Regions from separate parts of the Homo sapiens genome. Here region 1 is linked to region 2. Evidence: promoter capture Hi-C in 16 types of primary human blood cells and fetal thymus (Javierre and others, 2016). All regions are on one chromosome and are shown on one strand. Each heading gives the region's core, a stretch centred on a gene start or on the middle of the fragment in contact. The rest is flanking DNA. Distances are from core to core; before and after follow the strand shown. Region 1 holds the start of RNF2 (ring finger protein 2). Region 2 holds the start of CEP350 (centrosomal protein 350).

Region 1 (3,739 bases), core at 711-3,210, 5.1 Mb before region 2:
AACACAAATCATGAATAAATCAGATTAGAGACACAGACGTGACACCACAAACTGTAGGTCACTAATAAAATTCCAAACATGTTTGCTGACCTGGTCTATATTTCTATCCATTCAAACCTGGGAGCTTCACACAGGCAGAGAAAAACTCCAAATTCCCAGTATTTTGAAAGTCTGCATGGTCTACATTATGTTAGTGATTGTAACTGGAAATTTTTCTATGCAACACACTTTAGGACAACTAGCTTATTTTTCAAATACTCAAACGGATTGGCCTGACTCGGGCAATTTTTCTTCGTAAATCTGCCTCTACTATAATTAACCTCAAATGTGGATGCCACAAGGATACCTGAGGAAAATAACTACAATCCTTACAAAAAGTGAGGGACCATATTTGCTGTGCTACCCCTAGAAAAAGGAGTCACCTATAACTACCTATTATTTTGCTAAAAAGTAGTTTAAGAGTACAATCAAGATTTTTAAAGATACTTGTTGATTGTGAAAAGTAGAAATTTCAGGGGAAAAAGGGAATAACCAAGAGTCATATTGCTGCTATTTAAATACTTTATAAATCCAAGGATCAAATTTCACTATAAGAAGCAAACTCTCACACCCACCTCAGTTATTAGAATATTCAACAACTGCACTTAATACAAAACAGATAGATTAGCTACCAATTAGACTAAGTATTCCAGCTGATCATCTTGGAATTACCAAAAGTAGATTATGTAATGCAAATCGCTCGTACATTCGTTTTAAACATATCCTCGGTTTAGAACACTGAAACCATGCCTTAATTTTTTTAATTGAAAAACAGCGTATTACTAAAATACTGAGTGCATATGTATATCCTTTTCACGGCACTTCAAAGAAACCTGACATCTTCAAATCATTTTACAATGTAAAGTTACATTCTCTAAAACTTCCGACAGCCTCGAAAAAGATACCCAAAGGGGCTTCAAATAGATGAGTCTATAATTGATCTTAGCGGGCAAATAACTGGAATGAACCTCAAAGTTTGAGATCAATTTTTACTAACACCATCTCTGAAAGCAAGAAGGAGACTTCTGTAGAAGGTAAACGATTCTGACCAGCAGGACGTGGGCTCCCGGCAAAAGTGGGTACTAGCATCTCAGCGTAAACGACACGGTTCAAAACGCGAATCTTCCCGCAGAAACTAACCAAGACACCCCCTCCCCCCACGACTCCTCCTGGGTAAGCTCACGGTTTTAGAAAGCAGCAACAGATACTCCAGAGCAGGAGGCGGCACTCCAGGAATGTGTGAAGCTGAAGGGGTCTCCCCGAGGAACCCCGAGGTCGAGGAGCTCCTCTACACTGGAACCCCGACTCCGACCCCCCAGAAGGAAGGAGCGATATCTGCACAAAGTGCCCCCTACCCCACCCCCACGATGCAGACACACATCCCTAGCTGCGAGGCGAAAGCCCAGAGAAAAAACTCGCATTCCACTCCGTCCGCCTCCGGAGTAGGGCTGCAGAGAGGCTGGGGCCCCCGCCCCCGGAGGCGAGGGGACCGCGCCGCAGCGCCGGCCTCCGCGCAGAGGAAAGGGCAGCGAAAGGCTCGCGGCGAAGGAAGGAATCCCGGCGCTTCGCTGACTGGGTCCTCCGCAAACCAGCTCCCTTCCCTCCCACGACCCTCGAAGACACGGGAACAATGAGAACCCGCTTCACCCGCCGTCTCCGCCGCGAGAGCGGCCGGGGGCGGCGGCGGCGCCATGTCCCTTCACACCCCCGCGGACACACACCCCCCCCACACTCCGGGGCCCCCGTCAGTCGCCTGCAACGCTGCCGAGTAGACGCGTGTCCCGGCCCGCTGCTTCCGCGTCCTTCGCCTCCCCGCCCGCCCCACTCACCGGCTCCTGCCCCAGCCCAGGGCTCCGCTGGCCGCGGCCGGAGCAAGACTCTGGTATCAGCTGCCGCGGACGCCGGCGCCGCCGCACAATATGGCGAGCCTCAGCTTCCGCAATGGAGCTCGGGAAATACAACAGGGGCCGCTCAATATTCATGAGAGACTGAGGGGAAGCCGGCTCGGCCGGCGCTGCGGGGAGGGCGGGAAGGAGCGAGCGAGCGAGGGGCGGAGGCGCGGGACGAGGACGTGCACGGCGCGGGGAGGCCCGCGGCGCGAGGGAGGGTGCGCCGCCGCGTGTTGGCCTGGAGAACCCGCGCCACCGCCCCGCCCTGGGCTGGCCGGCCACGCCCCCCCGGCGCCCACCGCGGTCCGACGTAGCCCCCGGGCAACGCCCGGATGACGGCGCAGCCACCTCGTGCTCAACCTTCTGCTTGGGTTCTTCTGCCCTGGCTTCGGCCCACCCTTTACACCTTCCTGGCCGGCTTCTGGGGTTTGGGCTCAGACTTCTTTCTCATGAGTTCGTCCTCTTAAACCTGTCCCACCCGGCGGAAATCCTCATCAGGCTTTGGTTTGCAGAACTTCACATGAACTTCGGCACCCTTCCGCTCTCGTACAACAAACATACACTTTTCATCCTTGCAGGATAAAACTGCAAGTGTAATTGCTCCTGGGAAAATGACCTTCCACTCTAAACTTAGCTTAACATTCTGATTGTGGTCATCAGCTCTTACTATTTACCTTGCTGCTGCTTTATTCCTACCTCCTTGGCCCCTTCCAGTGTTACCTTCTGAACTTGAGGATTTACGAAGTAATAGATTAATAGATGTAATCATTACCTAAAACACAGCCAGTTAGTCTCCAGTAAATTATCCGACATTTAATGCATATAAATTATGAGCTGAAGAAGTAACGAAGAATTGAAAGTTCCCTGATCTCTATATGTACTATTGTTGAGATGTCATGTTCTCTTGAGAAGATAACCAGCAATACCAGACCGTAAATCTGAAGGCATAGAGGCATAAACCAATGGACTGCAGTGGGAATTGGGCAAACTAGGTTCATAGCCTCCAATGTGTGTCTATGTGACTTACGTAGATTGCGTAGCTCCTCTGCACTTCATTTTCTTCGTCTGCGAGATGAGAGAATTGTATTGAATCCTAGGTCCTTTCCAGTTCTTTAACGCTCTGAAACTCTCTATAAGCAATTCCAAATAAATGACATGAATTTACATAGGAATTTGGAAAAGAAAAATATCAATTCCAGCTGGTGTGTTTGGGGATGATTTCCTGAGGAGCCGGGATTTAAGATGGCCTTTGACGCCTTGGATGGGTGGAAAGAAAAAGGACAGGTGTTAAATACAGCACATTATATATGCTACCTAACAATCCATCAAAGAAAACAAGCATTATTCTTTTTCAGTGGCTTGAAAGCTTTTGCCTACTATCTATAACTTTAAATAACAAGTGACAGTTATCTGACTCTACAAGCCCTTCAAGGTTAAACTCTTCCTCCAATGTGGGGGGAGAAAAAAAGGCTGGGTGTGGTAGCTCACGCCTGTAATCTCAGCACTTTGGGAGCCCAAGGCCACCGGATCACTTGAGATCAGGAGTTCGAGATCAGCCTGGCCAATATGGTGAAACTGTCTTTACTAAAAATACAAAAAAAAGTTAGCCAGGTGTCGTGGCACGCGCCTGCAGTCCCAGCTACTCGGGAGGCTGAGGCAGGAGAATCGCTTGAACCTGGGAAGCAGAGGTTGCAGTGAGCCGAGATCGCGCCATGACACTCCAGCCTGGGTGTCTCGGCGAGACTGCGTCTCAAAACAAAACAAAACAACAACAACAACAAAATCAAAATAATCAGGGAAGCTCTGCTTCT
Region 2 (4,074 bases), core at 389-2,888:
AAGAAATATGTTCACATACGTATGAAATTTTTTACATATACAACTTGCCATCTCTACATACACAAAATTTTGCTACTGAGGATGAAGAGATACAGAGATACACATGTATTTATCCACATATACAATGTATTCTAGCTTGAAGTTTATTTTCAGATTACAGTATCTTAAATTTAATGCACTGACAGTTCAAATGATTCAGATTTATTTCATTACATTAAATAAAATTTGTCAATTTAGCACACCGAAACTAATTATTATACGCCCATGGCTTTGAAGCAACTTCCAGCATGGGTCTAACAATCCCTCAAAGTCACAATTCCATGTCATTAGCAGTGCATTTCCTTGTTTAAAAACAATATATTAAACGAAGAAATTTTCAGAATGGAGGGCAACTTTTAGTATTTTATCATTGTTTCTACAGAACTTTTCAGATTGTTACTAGCTCTGCCAAAGATAGTCTTTCTTTTAAAACTCTTCAAATACAGGGCAGGAGGTATCGTTAACATGGCAACAATAACGACTTCCCCAAATTCAAAACAAGGATCACCATCAAAACAAAACAATCAGGTGGAGTACATGGATATTGATCACTATTTCTGACAACCTGTTTTTTCCCATATGAAGGATTTGCTACTGCATTAAAACATTAAAATCTATGCCTATGTGCAACTTTCTATCTGAATATTTAAAATCCAGGCAAATTCCAATTCATATCTTGTGACATTAGCTAAATATTACTTAGCATGTTGAGCTGCATTTAAAAGGCAGAGGAAAATACTGACAACTTCCAAAACATAAAGCCTTTTAAATCTTTCCCCAAATTATCTGTGAATAAACTACCTTCAGCAGCCGCTAGACTAGAGTAGATCAAAGTTTTCCCTATACTTGAGAATGTGATCCCCACTGAAAAGGAACAGAAACTGATCATCCCTGCCACTGGAGCCAGTCCCCGGAATCTCCCCAAATACGCCTGATCGCCAGATGAAGAAGGGACACTTCTCCGGGCAGCAAAGGCTAGAGGTATCTTACCTCTGCAGGCTAGAGGAGGGGTGGAGGAGGCGGGAGGACACTGGCACGTAAGGAAGGAAATTCCGTCTTCAGCAGGCACTGGTGGGACCCGAAACCTAGGTCCCCGAAAAGCCTCAGAACCCAGGGAGGTTCCCCGAGGGGGACGCCAAGCAGGGCCAAGACTCTCCGCGCCCGGCCCCGCCTCTCTTGCCGCCACCGGGGACCCGGGACCGCGGACAGAGACAGTTGAGGCTGAGCGAGACTCCGCGGTCCCAGCCAGGTCCTACAGGAGCTCACCTGAGAGTGTCGCCTCCGCCCTCGGCTACCACGGTGCATCCCGCGGAGCCTGGCGGAGGGTGCAGTGACGCCGCCCCGACCGGCCCCAGGGCTGCCCGGCCTGGCCTCCCCGCTCCGGGGACGCACCGGGTGCCCTCCTCGCACCGGCTCCGGGGATCCGCCGGTCCGCTGGGAAGGAAGACAAGGCGGAAAGGCTGCCTCCCCTCCCTCAGGGCAAGCCACCCCCCGAGCTGCGGCTCCCTGCAGTTCTCTCTGGCGCAGGTCTGGCCCCGCTCCCCGGCCCGGGAGTCACTTCGTCAGGGGCGGCCCAGTCGCCATTACAGCCCAACAACTGACACGGAGGAGGAGCGGCGCCAGCGGCAGCGGCTGTGGCGGCGGCGCGAGGCAGGGCGGGAGCAGTCGGGCCCAGGCAAACCTCGCGAGAACTGTCCCGAGACAGTGCCACAGGCATGCCAACCTTCGGTTAGGGCCATGTTGAGTGTGGCCGAAAGGTGGGAGCGAAATAAAACAAGGAGCAGAACCGCGAAGAAGCCATGTTTGGTGCGTCGAAGTTTAAACTCGTAGGACTTGGGAGGAGCCAAGGTATATCCGCAGAAGAGACCACCCCTGCCCTTTCGCTTTGACGCTCATTGGGCCTTTTGGCTGCGCATTTCACCCCGGGCTGAGAAAACAAGCTGGGGATTCGACAAGAATGAACTCAAAGTCTGGAAACGGCAGCTTCTGAGAGTTTACAATGTTTCACCAACTGTCGTCCAAATAAGTCGTCACCCCTGTCAGAGTAGTTGCAGCTCTGCCGTTACCCACTGCTGTCACTGTGGCCGTTTTATTCGCGAGGGTTACAGTTCTGTTTAGCATGCATCTAATGACTTAAGACTCCACGCAAGTAAAACGGAGTTTCCTCCCATTAAGTATTGGCTTTGCTTTAACAGTGCTTTGAGAGGCTCTCTGTGGCCAACATATCTTCTCATATCTTTGTCCTCGTTTCCCAATCTCCGCGTGGTGAAATCATCTATCAAGACTTGGCTTAAAGGACCTCTCTTCTGCAAATAATGCCATCTTCCGCTAGGTGCTCACTGCACACAGACTCGCCGCCCACCACTTCTGTCCACCTTCTGAACTCCGATAGTTATTTACCCAGAGACTGTTTCTCATCTTTAAGTGTCGTGAAGACTTTAAGATCTGTTTTATCTCTCTATACCCCAAAATGGCCTAGCACAGTAACTAGGACATTGTAGGTGCTCAATAAATGTTTGTCGAATATCAATGACAGCAGGAGGCAGTAAATGGTCCCTCTTTGTAGGGCCTACAGCTGTGCCTGAGTAGGATGTACAGAAGTCCTGCATACGTGTGAAGTGTCTCCAGGAAGCTGCACTGGAGGGGACAGGAAATGTGGGTAATCGTATGGTGCAAGTGGTAGCAAAAAAGACAACATAAGGAAAATGTTATTTAGGTTTTGCCCAGTCTTGCTGTTTAAAGCCCTGTGTTAGATGCTTTTCATGCGCTATTTTACTGAATGTAAACAACCACCTTATTAAATATACTCACTTTTTTAAAACGAAGAAACACGTACTGGCCGGTCACAGTGGCTCACGCCTGTAATCTCAGCACTTTGCGGGGCCGAGGCGGGTGGATCACGAGGTCAGGAGTACAAGACCAGCCTGGCCAAGATGGTGAAACCCCGTCTCTACTAAAAATACAAAAATTAGCCGGGCGTGGTGGCGGGTGCCTGTAATCCCAGCTACTCGGGAGGCGGAGGCAGGAGTATCGCTTGAACCTGCGAGGCGGAGGTTGCAGTGAGCCGGGATCGCACCACTGCACTCCAGCCTGGGCAACAGAGTGAGACTCCATCTCAAAAAAATAAAAAAAAAGAAAGAAAGAAAGAAAAAGAAACAAGTACTGAAAAAGCTAAGTAATTTGCCCAATTTTATACCATCAATAAAAGGGAGCTGTAAGCTTTGGGATCTGCTTTGCCCCAAAGCCTGTTTATACTTTTTCAGCCCCATGCTATCCCCTTGACAACAGAGAAGACACCAAAGTTCTGTCACTGTGCTCAGAGCAGGGTTACCCTGGTATCAGCCTATGCACAATTTCTACTTCTTATACCTTGTGTTGGTCTGTCTTCTCCTCGCCTCCTAAATTCCCCAAGCACATCAATGTCTTTCTTTTCTAATATCCCGTTACTCTTGTGTTTACCCTACAGATTGGCCCTGAATCTATCAAGTTTTGTACTAGTTGCATATAGTTTCATGAGAGTAATTAATCTCTGGAACAAGATTGGAGGTTTACTGTGGAAAGGTTTGTGGCCCTTCCCAGACGTCTCCGCAGTGTTAGGCCGGTAATAGGTATTCAATATGGCTCCCTTGTTTCTCCTACTTTTTAGTAGACACTAAGATTGCATTTTTCTTTATATTCTTTGTTGATTACTGTGGCCTTGACTCTCACCACTCTTTGGATAACTGGATCTTGGCCCTAGACTAAATCTCCAATTACCCGTTACCCATCTTCACATAGATACAGAAGTCACCAGCACCTTCAGCTCCCATATTAAGGTTATCATTTTTCCTCCCTCAGTCTCACAAAGCCAGCTCCTCCTCGTTTCCTCTGTATTTCTGTTCATGGCCGTCACAGAACACTCTTCTGAGAACTAAGAGAACCAAAGTTTCAGAAATATTATATACTCCTCTGTACGCCTTGCTCCCACCCAGTTATGAAGTCTCTAAATACCACTGATGCATATTTCTTATATGTACTTCCCTTTTGTCTGATTGC

Evidence for each region. The method cuts DNA at HindIII sites, captures the fragments that hold promoters and counts their contacts. A CHiCAGO score of 5 or more calls a contact.
Region 1: the fragment with the promoter of RNF2 here is called in contact with the fragment with the promoter of CEP350 in region 2 in 1 of 17 cell types (activated CD4 T cells); the score reaches 7.3 in activated CD4 T cells.

What each region holds. Positions count from the first base shown.
Region 1 is chr1:185,043,779-185,047,517 of GRCh38, reverse strand. It overlaps RNF2 (ring finger protein 2), which reads right to left and starts at 1,960. Exons shown (of 7, transcript NM_007212.4): 1 at 1,869-1,960. RefSeq lists a silencer at 2,071-2,330. The HindIII fragment of the contact is 4,610 bases long and covers 1-3,296 here.
Region 2 is chr1:179,952,374-179,956,447 of GRCh38, reverse strand. It overlaps CEP350 (centrosomal protein 350), which reads right to left and starts at 1,638. Exons shown (of 38, transcript NM_014810.5): 1 at 1,306-1,638. LOC101928933 (a long non-coding RNA gene) reads left to right here and starts at 3,970. Exons shown (of 4, transcript XR_241158.4): 1 at 3,970-4,074. RefSeq lists a silencer at 1,204-1,653 and enhancers at 1,441-1,942, 4,033-4,074. The HindIII fragment of the contact is 10,111 bases long and covers 1-3,260 here.